2 separate regions of the Homo sapiens genome follow, and region 2 is linked to region 1. The links are contacts of gene promoters, found by promoter capture Hi-C in human tissues and cell types (Jung and others, 2019). All regions are on one chromosome and are shown on one strand. Each heading gives the region's core, a stretch centred on a gene start or on the middle of the fragment in contact. The rest is flanking DNA. Distances are from core to core; before and after follow the strand shown. Region 1 holds the start of LRRC3B (leucine rich repeat containing 3B). Region 2 overlaps TOP2B (DNA topoisomerase II beta).

Region 1 (3,057 bases), core at 378-2,877:
CTGAGTGCCTGGCAGGGAAGGTGGGCGTGGGTCTACCGACCTGGCTGCAGAGGTGAAGGAGCGTAGAAGCAAGCGGGTGCCAGAGAAGAGAGCAGACTATGGTCCTCTTAGAGCTTGGAGAAGCATCCCTAGTCCACGATCTGACCATTCAGTCACCACCCAAGATGCCAACGCATTCAGATTCTCGCGGGGAGGTTTGTTTGCTTCTGGGGAGGAAGATCGCCCCATCCCAGGCACTCAGCAGCCTGCCTTCCCAAGTACCCAAGGGCCCGGCATTCCGGGGCTCCATTCCTTGTCTCCACGCGCCCCCAGGTACCCAGCCCCTCCCCCATCTGTATTTACATACCCAGGCCAGCGCCCTCCGGACTCAAATCCCTTTTCCTCTTCGTCAGATGGCCTCTCAGGGCTGGCCGCTCGCCCACATTAGCAGTACCTTTTCATTTCCCTCAACCGTGGGCAGATCTACCCGACCCTCAGCTTCCTCCTCCACCGCACGAGCAGCCTTTCCCTCCCTGAGCCACTTACTTCACCCACCCATATCTGCACTTGCAGTTCCCACGGCGCACAGCCGCAAGCCACTCCAAAGGTTTCATTGCCGAGTTGGGGGTGGCGTGTGCAAGGATGGACTGACTCCCATCGCGCTGGACGAAGCTTCAGGGGTGGCCGCAGCCATCCTCCATGTCCCACCTCTCTTATTTCACCTTCTCTGTCCCTACCCAGCTCCTAGAGGCAGGACGAGCACTGCTGGGTCCCAAACCCTCGCCTCAGGAGCCAGAGCTGCGGGGAGTGAAAAGTCGACTGGCAAGAACACACAGAGAGAAATGGGCAGATGCATATGGCAAGAGGGGCTGGGGGAAGGGCAAGAACTAAACCTGCAAGTTGCACAGCACGGGGTGAGCACCGCGCAGGGAAGGGGTCACAAAAGTTTGCAGACTATTGTATAGCAGCCGGCTGAACAGGAGCGAAGAGGGTCGACTCTCTCTCTCCAGGAGGAGGTCTCTCCCAGGGTCTGCGCAAAAGGGATCAGGGAGGCTTAGACAGGCACGGCTTAGAACTGGTGTAATAGTTCTCCTCTACTTGTTCCTTGGAGGGACGGCCTAGGTACCCGGGCAGAGGGATGATCCCGCGCTCTGCGAAAAGCAACAGGCGGCTGCACCTTACCTTGCGCCAGTCCCGGGCCGGGGTGGCTGCTCCATCCTCGTGGCTCAGGGAGGAGGCGTTGGGTGCGTATGCTTAGGGGTGTGCCCGCTGCCAGGGCTGCAGCGGCCGCCACCTCCAACCAGCTGCAAGCCGAGCTGCCCACCTGGGACCGGGCCGGCCCGGCGGGCTTGGCTCCCGGCGAAGGCGGCGGCGTTGGTGCGCGGCGGCTGGGGCGCGGGACGCAGGCAGTGCGTGGCGCGGCTGGCGTCTTCGGGCGCCGCCACCGAGCGAGGGTGCGGCCCCGGGCGGCCGTGCGGGGCACGACTTGGCTCGCGTTGCTGCGGCGGCCGCTGCAGACCCTGCTCCAGGCGCCGTAGCCTTGCAGGAAGAGCAGACAAAGACAGGAGAGAGGCAAAGCGCCGCTTGCCCAGAGATGCAGTCGGCTCAGTCAATAGAGGGAAATCGCCTCCAAACCCAGGCTGGGAATGAGGGAGGAGGGGCGAGGCGGCTGGGGACTAGAAAAAGCAGCAGGGAATTAACGTGACAGTCAGAGCCCAGCCAGTGCCTCGCCGGCGCTGCTCTCTCGCCTCGCGGTTGCGGGGTCCGGAATGGAGAGAGGAGGCGGGGGCTGAGCGTTGGCTGCCGGAGACCAGCTGAGGTAGGAGTATTAACTCCCTCTGCTGCTCTCGCCTGCCTTCCTCGCACCCCCTTACACAGCTCTACTTGCAGCAGGCTATGGCCCCATTCTTTCTCCTATTTTTCTAACTACTGAGATCAGAGCTGAATTAAGCTGGTGAAAGGAGCAAAACGTGCAAGGGATTGATTGCCCTCCTTGGGGGAAAAGCGGAGGCTTAAAATCAATTCGACAAATGAGTGTTTACTGGGTGCTGAGTACTGTGCTCCGCTATTGTGAGGGAGGGTTATGAATAAGGTACCCCCCTCCCGCCCCAGGGTCCGTTGTCTGATCTCAGAATCAGTTTCCCCTGCAGTTCTGGAAGCCCAAAGTTTCGGGGTTGAGTTGTGGTCCCTGATCCCGATCCTCAACCAATCTAGCTTTCTAAATCAGAAGAAGGTGGAATTCAATTTTCCTTTCTCCTTCCTGGGATGACTTTAACCTGCAGCCGAAATGGAGTCTATAGGCCCCTTAAAAAAGCGCGCGCACGCCAGTGTGTGTGTGTGCGAGCGCGCTCGCGTGCGCGCGTGTGTTTTAAGAGTAAGTCAAATTAATGGTTTTAGTGATGTTCTTATTTCATGATTTTAATTATTTACCATATCTGCAGTAGACACCAGTTTGGGGCAGAGGAACCCGCCTCTCCAGACTCTACAAATACCACCTTTTTTTCTAAAGCTTTTTTCCGCTACCCCAGTCCTCTGACTCGAGGCAGAAATCTTTCCCCTCTCTTTGCCCTCTCAGAATTTTATTTGCCAATCACTTGCGGAACTTATATATTTATAGATTTATCTCTTCACTCACATATGAGTATTCCCTGTGCTTTTTGTTTGTTTGTTCTCACTGCAACATCCAGCAGTGTTTTGTATCTAATGGGTACTCAAGGAAAGCTTATCCAGTTGAAGGTCATTTTCTCCTTCTGTATGAGCTAAATCTCAGTGTCTCTAGAATTAAAGAGACTCCAGGGATGGAACTTTTGATTTAGGGTGTGGTGGAGGGAACCACACATACAGTTAGACTCACAGCCCCTTTACTGGAAAGGTAATAAAGTATTTAATTCATTTTGGTCTCTAGACAATCAACCTTCTCCCACTGACCACCCACCTCTGTTTCCTGAATTCCCAAAAGCAAAAGAAAACCAAACTGCTAAGCAACTGCCTAGAGCAAGACATGTATGTTCAGCTGCCAACACCTAGAGCAAACCCATTCCAAGTGGAGAATGACCAAAAAATCTTGATTATTTCTTG
Region 2 (2,901 bases), core at 8-2,507, 970 kb after region 1:
TTTTTAGTATAGTAATTATAGACTTATTTACTCATTGAAACGTCCAAGTTTAAGGGTTTATATTAAGGATTTTTGTTTGTTTTTTATCTATTTATTTATTTATTTATTTTTGTGATGGAGGCTTGCTATCACCCAGGCTGGTCTCAAATTCCTGGGCTCAGGGGATTGATCCTCCGGTCTCAGACTCCAGAGTAGCTGGGACGACAGGCCTATGGCACCATGCCCTAGGTTTTATAAGTTGTTTGATATTATAATTGGCAGTTGATTTGAAATATCTGCAAATGACTTCCATTGTATTCTATAAATAATGTGTATCCCTTAAGGCTTTTCCTGACTTTAAATAGAATGGTATATCTTTTTCTTTCCTCAATAGTTGTCATATGATATTTAGAAAAAAGTGTATTGTCACACATTCATCACACTTATTTTACAGTATTTCTATGTTCTTCCTAGAGAAAATTACAAATAATATTAGACAAAGTCATCTACATTTCACATGTTCAATTTTTTTTGTTGTAAAAAAATACAACATTAAATTTACTGTCTTAGCCATTAAGTGTAGAGTTCGGTAGTGTTAAATATATTTACATTGTTAAGCAACAGATCTCTAGAAGTATTTCATTTTCCCAAACTGAAACTATATCTACTAAACACTAATTCCCTCTCCCCCCAGCCCTTGGTTAACCACCTTTCTACTTTCTGTTTCTATGATTTTGATTACTGTGGATACTTTATATGATTGTAATCATACAGTATTTGTCCTTTGTGACTGGCTTATTTTGTTTAGCATAATATCCTTGAGGTTCATCCATGTTATAGCACATGACAAGATTTCCATGTTTTTTGAGGCTGCATAATACTCCATTGTATCTATATACGCATTTTAAAAATCCATTCATACACCAGTGAACATTTGGGTTGCCTCGCCTTTTGGCTATTATGAATAATACCGTGATGAACATGGGTGTGCAAATATCTCTTTGAGATTTTGCTTTGAATTCTTTTGGATATATACCCAAAAGTGGGATTGCTGGATCATATAGTAATTCTATTTTTAATTTTTTGAGGAACCTCCACACTATTTCCATAATGGCTGTAGCATTTTTCTAGCATTTTATATTCTCACCAACAGTGTAGAAATGTTCCAGTTTCTCCACATCCTTACCAACAGTTATTTTCTGATGGCTGTCTTAATAGGTGTGAGGTGATATCTTATTGTGGTTTTGATTTTCATTTCTCTTATTAGTAATGTTGATTATCTTTTCATATGCTGTTGACCATTTGCATATCTTATTTGGAGAATTGTCTATTGAAATCCTTTATCCATTTGAATGGGGTTATTTTGTTATTGTCGAGTTATAGAAGCTCCTTATCTATTTTGGATATTAACCATTTGATGGTTTACAGATATTTTCTCCATTCCATACGCTGCCTTTTCACTCTGTCAGTTGTTTTCTTTGGTGCACAGAAATTCTTAAGTTTGGTGTCCTGTTTGTCTATTTTTGCTTTTGTTGCCTGTGATTTTGGTGCCATATCCATGAAATCATTGCCAAATCCAGTGTCTCAAAGGTTTTCCTTTATGTTTCCTTCTAGGAGTTTCAGAGTTTTAGGTATTACTTTTAGGTCTTTAATCTATGTTAATTTTTGTATGTGGCATGAGAGTCCAACTTCATTCTTTTGCTTGTTATCCAGTTTTCCCAGCACCATTTGTTGAAGAGACTGTCCTTTCCCCACTGTGTAGTCTTGGCATTCTTGTGAAAAATCATTTGGCCTTTTATGTAAGGGTTTATTTCTGTGCTCTCTCTTCTGTCTGTATGCCAGTGCCACACTGTTTTAGATTTCTGTTGTTCTGTAGTAAAATCAGGTTTTGAAATCAGGAGGTGTGAGGCCTTTAGCTTTATTCTTCTGATTAAAGACTGATTTAGCTCTATGGGTCCTCTTGAGATTCCATATGAATTTTAGATTTTTTTTTGTATTTCTGCAAAAAATACCATTGGGATTTTGGTAGGAATGGCATTGAATCTGTAGATCACTTTGGATAGTTTGGACATTTTAACAATATTTTAAGCTTTTAAATCCATGAGAATGGAATGCCCTTCCATTTATTGGTATCTTTTTTTCATTTCTTTTAACAATGTTTTGTATTTTGACATTATTCTCACCTCTTTGGTTAAGTTTACTCTGTGGTAGTTTATCCTTTTTGATGCTATAGTAAATGGGATTGTTTTCATAATTTCCTTTTTTGATTGGTCATGGTTACTGCATGAAAACATAACCAATTTTTGTATCCTGCAACTTGCTGAAATCATTTATTAGTTGTAATAGTTTTTCTGTGGAATCTTTTGGGTTATCTACTATAAGATTATGCCATTTGTGAGCATAATTCTACTTCTTTTCCAATTTCTATGCCTTTTATTTCCTTTTCTTGTCTTAATTGCTCTGACTAGGACTTCTAATACTATCTTGAATATTGATAATATTGGGCATCCTTGCCTTGTTCCTCCTGATCTTAGAGGAAAAGTTTTTAGTCTTTCACCAGTATATGTGCTGTTAGCTGTTGGCTTTGTGTGTATTGCTTTTATTATATTGAGGTGTTTTCTTTCTATTTCTAGTTTGTTATGTGTTTTTATCAGGAAAGTGTGTTGAATTTTGTCAAATGCTTTTTGCACATCAATTGAGATGATAATGTGTTTTTTGCCCTTCATTTTGTTAATATAGTGTAGTACAATGATTTGTTTTCATATTTGGAAACATCCTTGCATTTCAAGTATAAATCCCATTTGCTTATTGTGTGTAATCCTTTTAATGTGCTGTTGGGTCAGGCATGGTGGCTCCTGCCTGTAATCCCAGCACTTTGGGAGGCCAATGCAGGAGAATCGCTTGCGGCCAGGAGTTTAAGAC

Evidence for each region. The method cuts DNA at HindIII sites, captures the fragments that hold promoters and counts their contacts. A contact is called where the count stands out against the background at its distance.
Region 2: a fragment that was not itself captured here is called in contact with the fragment with the promoter of LRRC3B in region 1 in 2 of the 25 tissues and cell types used here (dorsolateral prefrontal cortex and thymus).

What each region holds. Positions count from the first base shown.
Region 1 is chr3:26,621,342-26,624,398 of GRCh38, reverse strand. It overlaps LRRC3B (leucine rich repeat containing 3B), which reads right to left and starts at 1,627. Exons shown (of 2, transcript NM_052953.4): 1 at 1,162-1,627. It overlaps LRRC3B-AS1 (LRRC3B antisense RNA 1), which reads left to right and starts at 1,636. Exons shown (of 4, transcript NR_183726.1): 1 at 1,636-1,798. RefSeq lists enhancers at 1-185, 1,778-2,293. The HindIII fragment of the contact is 7,905 bases long and covers 1-3,057 here.
Region 2 is chr3:25,653,645-25,656,545 of GRCh38, reverse strand. The region is part of intron 1 of TOP2B (DNA topoisomerase II beta); the gene reads left to right. Among named protein-coding and RNA genes, the nearest start is that of TOP2B, 9.8 kb to the left of the region's middle. The HindIII fragment of the contact is 5,215 bases long and covers 1-2,901 here.